Linked DNA regions of Homo sapiens: region 1 is linked to region 2. The links are contacts of gene promoters, found by promoter capture Hi-C in blood cells and fetal thymus (Javierre and others, 2016). All regions are on one chromosome and are shown on one strand. The core of a region is centred on a gene start or on the middle of the fragment in contact, and the rest is flanking DNA. Distances in the headings are between cores, read along the strand shown.

Region 1 (7,189 bases), core at 256-2,755, 2.2 Mb after region 2:
ATATACGTTACAAAATGAAAAGGACACTCCTGTATTAGTAATAAATGCCAGCAAACCATTGAAAAATCAAAATGACAAAGTTATGTAGATCTGCCTCTCCACAGATAGTATGAAATAGCTAACCTGGGCTATCCTTGCATCGTACATCTGCATCTTATAAAGGTCAAATATTTAATAGAGAGGAACATCTGAAGGGCTCAACGAAAAGTACCAGAAGCCTCAATGACTGGGTGAATGAAATGGATAAACATGATCAGGTCAAAGGGACAGACTTAGACAAAGTATCTCCTCCTCTTTCCCTTTTTCTCCCCCACCTCTCACAAGGAAATGTCTTATTATCCACATTTCAAAAGGAGAAAACCTATGAGAAGCACATTTATCAGGGTTACCCAGGAAACCACAAGGACGAAGAAATACCTGAAACAGTACCCCCTCCCCTAGCGGGGCATAAACTTTTCAAAGTGTCACCCAATACACAAAACCCCAGCTCCTGAGGGGCTCAGGCAGCTCCGCCTGTGGGCCCCTGGGAAGTGAAAGCATTCCCTCTCCAGGCAGAGATCCCCGCGTTTTTACCTTTGTGTTCGCCGAAGCCTGTTCCCACTCCTCAAATGAGGCAAAGTAAAGTTTGAGAGCACAGTCCAAAAATTGGGGTCAGACATATCCATTTCTTTCTCTCTTCAATTCACTGTGGGTTCAAGGCCATATGACTAAAATGGGGAGAGGTAAAAAAAAGGAAGAAAGACAAGGCCAAAAATAAAAAAAAAATCCCAATTATCTACTCACTCCCTCCAGAGAAAATGTGATGGGAACTGTGATCTCAAGAACAACTTGGAGCATGTCTGAGAAGTACCCGTCCCGTCCTAGCCTTTAATTAACACACAGCCTCCTCTCAAAGGTCCGGGAAACTGATTTCCTCTCGGGTCTGCCCTCTCCTAGTCAGGCTCGGCCAGCTATAAACAGTAATTACATGAGTTGAGCCGTGCGTTCTGCTCAAAGCGCTGTCTGTGGGATTCAGTCGGAGGTACTTTGTCATCTGTTTGGCAGATACCACTCGCCGCTTCTGCGAGGGGCGGGGGAGACGACTATTTTGAGGCTTTGGTTCCGGAGGCTGTTGCTTATCAGCAAAACCATTCACATCCGAACATGCCCAGTGCCGAGTTTCCTTTTGGTATCTACATACAAGGAAAAGAATTTGAATAGAAAAAGCTGCTCTTGCCCTCCCCTCCTGAAAAAAGCGGAAACTTAAAAGCACTTTTAAAAAATGGGCCTATTGGAGGACTTGAACCTGACACCTTTGTGGACCCTTCCAGGGTCCGGCTGGGAGGAGGCGGCAGGGCCTTGTCCCTGGACAGCTTGGTGGCCGCGCCCCCAGCTTTCCTGCATCCCCCACCCCCCACCAGCCCCGGCCGCGCCTGAGGAGCGGGGGCTCACGGGAAAGGGAGCAGGCGGCCGCGGCGCGACCCCAGCCGGTGCCGGGACAGCCCCGCAGCCTGGGCCGCCGCTCCCCCTCCCCGGAGCCCGGAATGGATCCGTCCCGGAAATAAATAAATAAACCCGCGGCTGCTCCGGGTGTGTGCTGCGCGCACCTGAGGCCGACCTGTGATTCACCGCGGGAGGGATGGCAGTGACAACGCTCCGGGGAAGTCCACAGTGACTCCTCCGCCAGGACGCCGCTGGTTGTATAGGAAAAGCACGCGGACGGGAAGCCACACTCACCGAAAACCTCAGTAAACTAAATTTATGAGTTTACATCTGTTCCATCAATGACCACGGTGCACACCTGTTTGGCTTCATGGCCGGCAACTACAGATCTAGGTAATGGTGAGCCCCGATGTGGAAAGACACTACCTGGCATTTATGTGGCAAATGCTACAAGTATTGCCCCTTCAAGTACGTTAGACCTTGAAAGGGCAGAATGAAGGGGGCTGAATGTTCTTGTTATTCATTTTGAAGAAAGGCATGGTATTTAAATATCTCCCCCTATCCATGAATGTTTGTATAAAGTACATAAAGAAAAAATATAATTTAAATTAGCTGCCTTAAGTCTGGTGTAATATGGCAAGAAATACTAAATCAAAAAAGTATATATTCAGCAAAAAATACATCTAAAAATGGCTTAGTCCATGCAGTAAATACCAGGAACAAACTCGCTTACAAAAATGGGAGGATAAAGAGAAGGAAGAGGGGGTGTAAGCTGACAAGGTAGGCGGGGTAAACAAAAAGAAGCCTGCTGTGGGATCTTCTTTATCTAATTCTTGTGGCCCACATTAATATTTTCACACCAAGGACTCCAAGAGTTTTGGATGATGTTTCATGTCCAAGGCTTTCGTATGCGTTATCTCCTCACATTCTTACAGAGCCTCCACAGATCCTTGCAACCCACAGAGGTAGACAAAGAAGGCATTATTTTCTCAATTTTACATTTGGGACTTTATCCCAAACATTCAGGGACACTAAATGACAAAACACACTTCAATAGATATTAATGAGCTTGGTCCAGCATTTTTGCCCCATGCTCTTCTTTTAAAAAATGTTTCTAAGTATTGCAAAAGATGTTTTGAAGGCTGACACAAAAGAGTGTCCCTGTGCTCCGGAGCAGTTTCTAGACCTCAGCACTGTTGACATAGGCTGGATAATTCTTTGTCTGAGGAGCTTTCTTGAGCATTGGAGGATGTTTAGCAACATTGCTGACCTCGACCTACTAGATGCCAGTGCTGACAATTAAAAATGTCTGAGGACATTGCCAAATGTCCCTTGGGAGGTAAAATCACCCCTGGTTGGGAACCACTGCTCCAGATAAAGGCTTCTCTGAGAGGGGTGATACAGAGCACTGGTTTAGAGCAAAAATTTTGGGTCTGAATTCTGGATACAACACTTACTATGACCTTAAATCTCTTCTCATTTTCCCCAGCTGCAATATGGGGTCCATAATAGGACCAACCTGTAAGAGGCTGATATACATAAATGAAGAGGAGATGGCATACATAAGCCCTTTCACGCAATGTCTACACACACACTGCGCATAAATGTAGGCAGTATACAGAAGCTAAGAGAATACTATGCTGACAGACATAAGACTGGAGCAGAGGACACCCCACAATGTGCTTCTTTCTACTCTCTAGAGTCTTCAACCAGGCTGCTGATCACACTGTGTATAATTGACTGTTTACTGCTGTCTTTCCAATTAGTCTGAGTTCCTCAAGGCTAAAGTCACATTTTACTGATCTTCATATTTTCAGAACCTGACAGCTCCTCAGTTTATATAGGCATTTAATATTAGTAAATCCTTTTTGAATGGATACTTCAGAAGCCCAAGTATCTCTTATTTCTCTTAAGATGCACTGAAACTATTAGTACTAGTAGATCTGTATTCTCAAAGAATACTGAATTTTTGAGAATCCCATGAAGACGGTAAATTCTGAAGACTTTCTCTTAGTGACTTATTTGTATCTATATCATGTAGCTGGAAAGATATCAGTGCTAACATTCCTCAGGTCTTTACATGGCTCTAAGAAATGTCACAATCAAACTCAAGGGGAATTCCCTTTGAGTCCCATGTCCCCTCCTCAAAGGCAAGCCCAGAGAATAACTTTTTGTGCTCACTTGTAGGTATCCAAGATCAAGAGGGACAATTACATATTATAAGCCGCACAGAGAAGAGTAATCAAGGTGGACATGAACTTGTGCTATATAAGTTATGGGTTGAAGAACTCTGTGGAAAGTAGAGAAGAAAAAATTTAGGGAACAAGCAGTAGTTGAATACAGCTATGTGAAACTATGAGAACTATGTGAAAGAGTGTTTGGATCCAAAGATGAAAGAGCTGACACAAGAGTGGATTTTCTGAGAGCTGTTTGAGCAGAGAAAACTTGAAGGAGATACAGTGAGTAGAACACAACCTGTAGGTGGTTTGAAGACCTGAGGACTCCAATACCTCCCAACTCTCATATTCTCTATAGTTTTTCTAGAAAAGCCCATGTATTGGGGCATAACCTATAAAGATGATAGCAACTAAAATGGATAAATCAATGACATAAAATGTTTATTTCTTCTCTTGATTAAATGACAGATACCCCAATCTGCAGGCATCATATGTTATGACTGCCTCCACTCTCTGCATTTTGAGAAAGCCTCTACAGAAATTCTCAAAGGAATGGGTAAAGACATGAGTATTTTTAACTACATATACTTTAAATTTATTTTTTTTTTTTGCATTTAAAAGGCTTGAGAGGATTTGGGTTGTATCCAAACTGAAAAAATAAAAATAGGTTAAGTACATGAGGAACCAGAATGAATTAATATAGTGAGCGAAAGTGGATTGTACATTCCCACACTCATGAAGATAAGAGTACAGATGACACTGAAGTGTGAGTTGTCTTCTAACCTGTTTGACTTGATTTGGTTACATATGATTCAGAAGGCAGAGCAGTCGGTAAACACAAGAATTAAAATTGTCAAAACTACTGACATTTTCCTACAAAATAATTATATGGGCAGAAACTATAGTTGCGACTGCAGTAAAACTCAACTGCAGAACAAAGAGGGAACTGAGATTACTGGAAATTCTTAAGACTATAGCTGGTCTAGGTCAATATAGAGATATTCAGCAGGATTTTCTATTGTGTAACAACTAAGCCTATACAACAATGGACAAGCTTTGTGGTTCAGAACTTTCATTCATTTAATCAGGATGACATTGTTAGCCATTGGTTTTGTAAGGTAAATGAAACTAAAAAACAAGCTTGTCATCCTACTGAAATGCAAGCTTAGGAAGAAATAAGTATTTAAGAAAGGGTCAAATCCTTCACTATTACCTCCCCTTCTACATACAAAAAATGCCAGGTCCTTTTTACTGACTTGAATTCTGTCTACTGCCCACCTGTTGACACAAGCCACCCCCCCCCTTTTTTTTTAGACAGAGTTTCACTCTTGTCGCCCAGGCTGGAGTGCAGTGGCGCGATCTTGGCTTACTGCAACCTCTGCCTCTCAGGTTCAAGCGATTCTCCTGCCTCAGCCTCCCAAGTAGCTGGGATTACAGGCAGTCGCCACCACACCCAACTAATTTTTTTGTATTTTTAGTAGGGACGGGGTTTCACCATGTTAGGCAGGCTGGTCTCGAACTCCTGACTGCAGGTAATCCACCCGCCTCAGCCTCCCAAAGTGCTTACAGGCGTGAGCCACCACAGCCGGCAACACATGCCCTTTAAGAAGGGGTTTTCTCCAGTCCACGTAGAACAATGTTAAAAGATAATATGCCTGGAGTCTTGTCTTGAACTTAGATTCTATGAAAAGACTTAGTTTTCTAGTGTGGATGTGAAGTCTGCAAAGCTGTCAGCTCCCTGTGCAGGACACTCGGGCCATGAGGCCATGCCCAATAAGACACTAAGTTGAGATTTCCTAAGCACTCTACCTGATCCTGGCCTATTCTAAGGATTTTGCCCTAAACTAACTTTGACATCTTCCCATCCCCATTTTCAGGGCACCTAGAAGTGACTAGTTCCCTAGGGCTGTCCACACCTTCAAGTCCACTTTGGTCACCTTCTAAATGTGGTCTTGAGAGTTTGAGGCTAGAACTGTGAACAGCAAACTGGCTGTCCTGAATGAGCAATCCTTGTAATCATTTTGTACATCCCAAGAAATAAAGTTTAATACTGGGACAGAAATGGGAAGAAAGTTACATCAATGAGGAACAGGTTGAAGAAAGCGTTTCTAATATTATTAAACAAATTTGCACTCACAATGCTAAAATATGGAGAAAGATAAAAAGATAGACAACAATTAACTTGTAGGGATAGGCCTGAATGCTGAAAACTAAGACAGATAATAGGCAAGGTTGTATCATCCTGGAAAATACCAAAAAATATTTTAAAATAATGCCACAAGGTAAGAGAGGTTCAGATTTTTAAAGTGAATGAGTAAAATGAAAGAAACATTATCCTGGAAGCAAAAAAGGAAAAGGAAAAAAAAAACCCAAAACAAAGGAAACAAAATAAGAATTCTATTTCCTGATGGGTTGAGCAAAGAACTACACAATCTCCGAAGGTAGTGTAAAGGATACAGTCTGAAGCAAGTAAAGGACATGCTAAAGACTGGCCAGAATGGGAAGAGAATGCAAGGTCTTTCTCAGGCATTCTCTGGATCCCAGGAGAATCAGAGACACGGAAAAGATTAGCAGATAACCTATAAGCTAACAAAATATAAGAGAAGACAGTGCATAGATATGGGAAATGAAGCACTTATCTCCCAAGGCAGTGAGTGACTCCTTGATATGTATGATTGATAATTAGAGTAGAATACATATATGGCACACAGCCCATAGGACTGGAGAAGGTGCAGAATCATGTCTTGCAAGCACACTCCAGCACTCTACCTTCTGACTTTCAAGCAGGGGAAGTTCCTGGGAGAAGCCCCATAGCTTAGTCCCAACAGAGTTCCACCCCGTGGGAGAACAGCTGGACACACTGCCAGAAAACACATGGCATCCTTACAGGGATGAAGGGGTCATGCAAAAGAAGGAGACTACTGGGCAAGATCCAGAGATGAGTGTATCTCTCCATTCTAAAACAGCTGTCTGGAAGATCCATCAATAAACCACGTGGAGCACTGGCCTCCACCCAAGCCAGTAATCCAATTATGAAGTAGACAGCAACACTTGGAGATCAATGCATCACCCGGCAAACAGAAAACCTAACTCCTATCTTGTTTTAAGACCAACCTTGTTGTCACTTTAGGCAGCCTTCATGGGAGCCCCCCATCCCCAATGAATTAGATATCCCTCTACTGGGCTGTGCTCCTGAGAGCTCCTGCATGAAAGGGTTCTTCCACTGTATCAAAATCCAAATCATTTTGTGCACATTATCAGTCCCTATTAGAGTAAGAGCTCCTTGAGGGCAGGGGCTTTATCCCCTCATCTTTAAACCATCACTACCACCATTGGGATGAATATTAAGCAAAGGGAGAAAGGGAACAATAGAGAAAGGATTGGGGGTGAAGGGGTGGGCAGGGGAAAGAAGAGATTGAGGATGGATTTGCTACAGGTTAGAAAGATGTGTGATAACAAAGTTAGGGCTACCTGCCTAATATTTTAAAGACTGACCCTATATGTGTTTTAAAAACCTTTTCCTGTCTATTTCAATTTCAGTTTCATGGGTCCATGAGTCCATTCCATTATCTATATAAGCTGTACCTATT
Region 2 (7,120 bases), core at 2,835-5,334:
AAAGTATTTTCTCCCAATATGTGGCTTGCCTTTTTTTGACAGTGTCTCACAGAGCAGAATTTTTTATTTTAATGAAGTCCAGCTTATCAATTAATTTTTCATGGATCATGCCTTTGGTGTTATATCTAAAAAGTCATTCCTAAACCTAAGGTTATTTTTATTTTCTCCTATGTTATATTCTAAGGGTTTTATAGTTTTGCATTTTGCATTTAGGTCTAGGATCCATTTTGAGTTAATGTTTGTGAAGAACGTGAGGTCTGTGTCTAGATGGATATCCAATTTTTTCAGCACCATGTTGAAAAGACTATCTTTTCTCCATTGTATTCCCTTTGCTCGTTTTGTCAAAGATCAGTTGACTATCTCTTTATTTTTACCTTTCCAAATCTTAGTTTTAGCTATGCCTCTTATAAATAGCATAGCACTGGATTTTCATTTGTTAGCCAGTCTGAAAATGTTTTACTTTATTATTTATTTTTTGAGACCAGGTCTTGCTCTGTTACACAGGCTGGGGTGCAGTGGAGTGATCGTGGTTCACTGCAGCGTCAAACTCCTGGGCTCAAGTGATCTTTCCACCTCAGCCTCCTAAGTAGCTAGGACTACAGGTACACACCCACACACTACCCCTCCTGCCTGGCTAATTTTTTTTTTTTTTTTTAGTATTTATTGATCATTCTTGGGTGTTTCTCGGAGAGGGGGATGTGGCAGGGTCATAGGATAATAGTGGAGAGAAGGTCAGCAGATAAACACGTGAACAAAAAGGTCTCTGGTTTTCCTAGGCAGAGGTCCCTGCGGCCTTCCGCAGTGTTTACGTCCCTGGGTACTTGAGATTAGGGAGTGGTGATGACTCTTAACGAGCATGCTGCCTTCAAGCATCTGTTTAACAAAGCACATCTTGCACCGCCCTTAATCCATTTAACCCTGAGTGGACACAGCACGTTTCAGAGAGCACGGGGTTGGGGGTAAGGTTATAGATTAACAGCATCCCAAGGCAGAAGAATTTTTCTTAGTACAGAACAAAATGGAGTCTCCTGTGTCTACTTCTTTCTACACAGACACAGTAACAATCTGATCTCTCTTTCTTTTCCCCACATTTCCCCCTTTTCTTTTCGACAAAACCGCCATCGTCATCATGGCCCGTTCTCGATGGTTGCTGTCTCTTCAGAGCTGTTGGGTACACCTGCAGAAAGGCTGTCACTTCACACTTGGAAGATTGCACTGCGGCCAGGCAGAGGCGCTCCTCACTTCCCAGACGGGGTGGCGGCCGGGCAGAGGCGCTCCTCACATCCCAGACGGGGCGGCCGGGCAGAGGCGCTCCTCACTTCCCAGACGGGGCGGCTGCCTGGCTAATTTTTATAGAGATGGGGTCTTGCTATGTTGCCTAGGCTAATCTTGAACTCCTGGCTCAAGCAATCTTCCCACCTTGGCTTTCCAAAGTGTTGGGAGTACAGGTGTGAGCCACCGTGCCCAGCTGGCTTTGTCTTTACTTAATGTTCTGAGACCACGCTTTGTGACTTCCTATCAGTTTGTACCAATCAGTCTTTTGGCACTCTTCTCTTCCTTCAAGATATGGATCAACAACCAAATTCTAAGCTCTATGTTTTTTTGTTTTTTTTTTTTGAGTCAGGGTCTAGCTCTACTGTCCAGGCTGGAATGCAGTGGCATGATTATGGCTCACTGTAGCCTTGATCACCCAGGCTCAATCTTCCCACCTCAGCCTCCTGAGTAGCTGGGACCACAGGTGCACATCACCATGCTCAGCTAATTTTTTAAAATTTTTATAGAGATGGGGTCTTGCTATTTTGCCCAGGCTGGTCTTGAACTCCTGGGCTCAAGCCATCCTCCTGCCTCAAACTACCAAAGTGTTGGGATTACAGGCATACATCAGTGAGCCTGGCCTAAACTCTAACTGGCACTGTAGTCCTAGCTTTATAGGCCTGTCACAGAGATACTCAACAAATTTTGCTAATGTTATATGTAATTATTACATAATATTAGCACATACTTTATTATTTATTTTTCGAGACCAGGTCTTGCTCTGTTACACAGGCTGGGGTGCAGTGGGGTGATTGTGGTTCACTGCAGCGTCAAACTCCTAGGCTCAAGTGATATTATATTAGCATATTGGTTGTATTCTCTCTTTTTTTCTTTTTTTTTAAGAGCGCAATCACGAACCTGATTTGAATTCTAAATAGGTGAGTACAGGTCTTTGTTCCTATGTTAGAAGGGCACAGACCATTCCTTACTGTATATCTCACAGTTTCTTCATTTGTTTGCACACATCAGCTGTTAGTATTGCTTTGGACTGTACTATTTTAACAAACTACCACAATTTGTTTATGCAAAAGACAGACATAGAGATTGTTTGTGGTTTGGGGGCTATCAGAAATAGAGCCAGGGACCCCATGGCAGTATATATAGTACCTGCCTGCTGAGATGCCACACTCCTGCTGCCAGGCTGGAACCCCTCAGCTCTGGACCCCAGTTCTTTGCTAGTAACTCTTTTTTTTCTGTGAACATTTACGTACAGAGACAGTATGTGCATTCACTTCTCTTGGGCAATAAACCTATGAGTAGAATTGCTGGGTCATACGGTAGATACATGCTTAACTATTAGAGACTGACAGCTTTCCAAAGTGGCTATAACATTTTATATTCCCACCAGCAATATTGAGGGTTTCAGACGCTTCACATTCTCATCACCACTGACGTCTAAATTTTAGTCATTTTGGTGGATGTGTAGGACCTCATGGTTTTAATTTTTATTTTCCTGGCAAGTAATGATATTGAGCACCTTTTAAAATGTTCATTGCTCATTTGGGTATCTTTTGTGCAACACGCCAAGTCTTTTACCCATTTTTAAATTGTTATATATTATTGATACATATGGTTATATATTATGGATAACAGACCTTTGTCAGTCTCTCAGTCCTTACAGAATCTTTAACTAGTTGATGCTCAGTAACTACCTACTGAATAAGTAAGGATCATTCATTGCAATGGGACCAAAGACTGGGATCTAGGATTATCATTCAGACAACAATTTCAGGAATTTAGAAAAAGGTCTTTTAAGAGATGTACTTATATAAAGCGGAATGTACTTCTCATATCAAAGATAAAAGTCAATTATAAAATAATATAGTTTCAGGGTTCAAAGACTATGTAAACCAACCACAAAAGTGGAGGTTGTGTTCCACTTATATAATAATTTTACCTAAGTTAGAACCACAGCTGAAGAAACAAATAAAAAGGCTATCAGGAGTTAGTAGCTGATAGGTGGATTAACAAAGTTACTTTAGCTGTCTATCTAAACCAGGGGAAAATAGGCTTGTGAAACCAACGCTTATACACACACACACACACACACACACACACATTAATATACACACACACATACTAATTAAACTTAAGTTTACTTTTCTATTTCCCTCATCTGGCCTGTAGCCAGACGCTTGGAGAGGTTGGGGAGAACCCGCTCCGGCGAGGACGCAGTACGCGGGGCCAGTTGCCCGACCATTCCCGAGACCTTGAAGGGACAGTGGGTCAGATCCAGGGTTCGCTTCCTTCCACGCCCCGCTACCGCCTTCCTTCCGATTGGCTGATCGGGGGCACCACAGCCAATCCTAGACGGCGATTGGCCAGGCTACCGCCAGGGTCGCCTCACCCGCACACGCCTAAGACTAACAAGGTCCTGGCGGAGGAGCGGGGGATCCCGGCAGTAGGTACAGGACCTACCTGCCAAGATGCTGCACGGTTGCCGCAAGGCTCGAACCCTCGGCGCCGGACCCACCTCACTGCCCGGTCCAACAGGCTCAAAGTCCCATCCTCACACACACCCGCGGGCGCCGTCACTGGCCCTCCGCAGAGGCGCGGTCACCGCTCTGCCTCTGCCACCGCCTTTACTCCCCGACGCCGTCGCCATAGTCAGCACCGTCCCTACCGCCCAAGATGCGGAAACGCGACAAATTGCTTTACCTGAACGACCCTACTAGCAGACGCCATCTTGCTGCCCATCATGACCCCCGAGAAGGGGCAGTTTCCGGGGCGCGAGCGAGCCGCGGCGATCACTGGAGTCCCGGGCAGCTGTGGGCGGTGCTTCCCGGGACGTCACGGAGGCGGAGACCGGACTGGGCTCTCCTCCGCCGTGGGGCTGGCTCCGCCCCCTGTGCCTGACCCCGCCCACCCCTTCTCCCTACTAGGATCCACCCACGTGTGTTCTATTGTTTCGTTTTGGGGACAAAATTTTGTTAAGGTGGGTCTCTGCTCATTAGCCTATAAATTGTCTAGGACCATTTCCTTTCCAGAAAGCCAGTCTATAATTTCGATATAGTTCAAAATTTTATCTGGAACCAAATAAATAATACAACCTTCTTATCTGACAGCTCTTGCAAAGATTAAAAAAATTAAAGAAAAACAAAAAAAAAACCTTGCGGTTTCCTAAAATGAATAATTTCGTTAAAATGGGAGTTAGTGGCAAGCTCACAAGAGTTTACTCTGGCTTAAAAAGGGCCATGTCACACTCTCTTGCTGATTGGCATTGCTTGATTGTAATTTGTTTCTGTTTTCTTTACCGTTTATTACTCCTGATATCGAACTGCTGGGCCTTTGCTTCAAGTTGAGATAACTCAAAAATTCAGAAATATTTGAAATGTAAGCCACTCATATCTTTCCCCCAAAATTACATTACGGGCGGGGCGCTATGGCTCACGCCTGTAATGCCAGCACTTTGGGAGGCTGAGGCGGGCGGATCACTTGAGGTCAGGAGTTCGACACCAGACTGGCCAACATTGTAAAACCCTGTCTCTACTAAAAATACAAAAATTAGCCGGGCGTGGTGGCGGGCGCCTGTAGTCCCAGCTACTCAGGAGGTGAGGCAGGAGAATTGCTTGAACCCAGAAGGCAGAGGTTGCAGTAAGCCGAGAGTGTGCCACTGCACTCCGGCCTGAGCGACAGAGGGAGACTCCGTCTCAAAAAAAAAAAAAGTTACATTACGTTCTGTGATAATGCTTAGGTTATATATAGTATTGTAAGCTTGACCAATGTGTTTGATGATATACATCAGTGATTTCTAAGTCTTGGGATCTTTTTAGAAATATAAATTACTGAACCCAGGTATGGTCTATTGGGATTCAGTGACTACAGAGAGGCCATTAACCCGTTTTGTTTTGTTTTGTTTTTGTGGTTTTTTTTTTTTTTTTTGAGACGGAGTCTCGCTCTGTTGCCCAGCCTGGAGTGCTGTGGCGTGATCTCAGGTCACTGCAACCTTTGCCTCCTGGATTCAAGCAATTCTCCAGCCTCAGCCTCCCCAGTAGCTGGGATTACAGACGCCCGCCACCACGCCTGGCTAATTTTTGTATTTTTGGTAGAGACAGAGTTTCACCATATTGGCCAGACTAATCTCCAACTCCTGGCCTCAAGTGATCCACCCACCTCAGCCTCCCTAAGTGCTGGTATTACAGGCGTGAGCCACTGCGCCTGGCCCCATTTTAATTATTTTCAAATGTGCAGTTCAGTCACATTAAGTACATTCACATTGTTGGGCAATTGTTACCATCTTCAGAAACTGTACCCATTAAACAAAAACTTATTCCTCCTTCCCTCAGCCTCTGACAACTATCATTTTACTTTCTGTCTATGAATTTGACTACTGTGGGTACTTAATGTACGTGGAGCCATAACAGTATTTGTCCTTTTGTAATTAGCTTGTTTCACTTAGCATGTCTTCAGAGTTCATTCATGTTGTAGAATGTGTCAGAATTTCTTTTTTAAGGCTGAAAAAATCCCATTATATGTGTATACCACATTTTGCTTATCCATTCATCTGTGGTAATTCTTTTTTTTTTTGAGACAGAGTCTTGCTCTGTCACCCAGGCTGGAGTGCAGTGGTGCCAACTCGGCTCACTGCAAGCTCCGCCTCCCTGGTTCACACCATTCTCCCACCTCAGCCTCCCAGGTAGCTGGGACTACAGGCACCCGCCACCACACCAGGCTAATTTTTTTTGTATTTTTAGTAGAGACAGGGTTTCACTGTGTTAGCCAGGATAGTCTCCATCTCCTGACCTCGTGATCTGCCCGCCTCAGCCTCCCAAAGTGCTGGGATTACAGGTGTGAGCCACCGTGCCCAGCCGATAATTTTTTTTTTTTTTTGAGACAGAGTCTCGCTGTGACACCCAGGCTGGATGCAGTGGCATGATCTCAGCTCAATGCAACCTCTGCCTCCTGGGTTCAACTGATTCTCCTGCCTCATCCTCCTGAGTGGCTGGGATTACAGGTGCCCACCACCACGCCCAGCTAATTTTTGTATTTTTAGTAGAGACAGGGTTTCTCCGTGTTGGCCAGAATGATCTCAAACTCCTGACCTCAGGTGATCCGCCCACCTTGGCCTCCCAAAGTGCTGGGATTACAGGTGTGAGCCACCGCACCTGGCCCAGTTCAATGCTTTTTAGAAAATTTTCATTTGAGACTCCTTTGACCTATGCCTCATTTAAAAGTGTGTTCAGTTTCCAAGTATTTGGAAATTTTCCTGTTATCTGACTGTTACTGATTCCTCATTTGATTCCCTTGTAGTCAGAACACAGTCTGTATAATTTCAATTCTTTTATATTTGTTGATATTTTGTCATCCAGGATATGGTCTATGTTGTTTATGTTCTGTAAGCACTTGAAAAGAGTGTTCTGCTGTTGTTTGGTGGAGTATTCTATAAATGTTGATTAGCTCCTCTGTTAGTCCATGTGTGCTACTGTAACAAAATACCTTAGTATGGGTAATTTATAACCACAGAAATTTATTTCTCATGTTCAGGAGGCTCAAAAGTCTAAGATCAAAGTACCAGCAGTTTCGGTGTTTTGTGAGGGCTCAGTCTTTTCTTCCAAGATGGTGCTTTGAACACTGCTTCATCCGAGGGGTTTAACACTGTGTGCTCACATGGCAGAAGGGCAGAAGAGAAGGAACCCATTCCCTCAAACTTTTTTTTTTTTTTTTTTTGAGACAGTCTTGTTCTGTCACCCAGGCTGGAGTGCAGTGGCACAATCTCGGCTCACTGCAACCTCCATCTCCTGGGTTCAAGCGATTCTCCTGTTGCAGCCTCCCAAGTAGCTGGGATTACAGGCGCCCTCTACCACAC

What was found. The method cuts DNA at HindIII sites, captures the fragments that hold promoters and counts their contacts. A CHiCAGO score of 5 or more calls a contact.
Region 1: the fragment with the promoter of MAST4-AS1 here is called in contact with the fragment with the promoter of KGD4 in region 2 in 3 of 17 cell types (non-activated CD4 T cells, total CD4 T cells and activated CD4 T cells); the score reaches 9.5 in non-activated CD4 T cells.

Annotation. Positions count from the first base shown.
Region 1 is chr5:66,998,470-67,005,658 of GRCh38, reverse strand. It overlaps MAST4-AS1 (MAST4 antisense RNA 1), which reads left to right and starts at 1,505. Exons shown (of 2, transcript NR_111908.1): 1 at 1,505-1,815; 2 at 3,610-4,041. The region is part of intron 4 of MAST4 (microtubule associated serine/threonine kinase family member 4); the gene reads right to left. RefSeq lists a silencer at 1,288-1,627. The HindIII fragment of the contact is 7,419 bases long and covers 1-4,655 here.
Region 2 is chr5:69,214,724-69,221,843 of GRCh38, reverse strand. It overlaps KGD4 (alpha-ketoglutarate dehydrogenase subunit 4), which reads right to left and starts at 4,084. Exons shown (of 4, transcript NM_033281.6): 1 at 3,973-4,084. The coding sequence starts at 4,014. RefSeq lists enhancers at 1,235-1,859, 3,508-3,802. The HindIII fragment of the contact is 5,941 bases long and covers 1-5,030 here.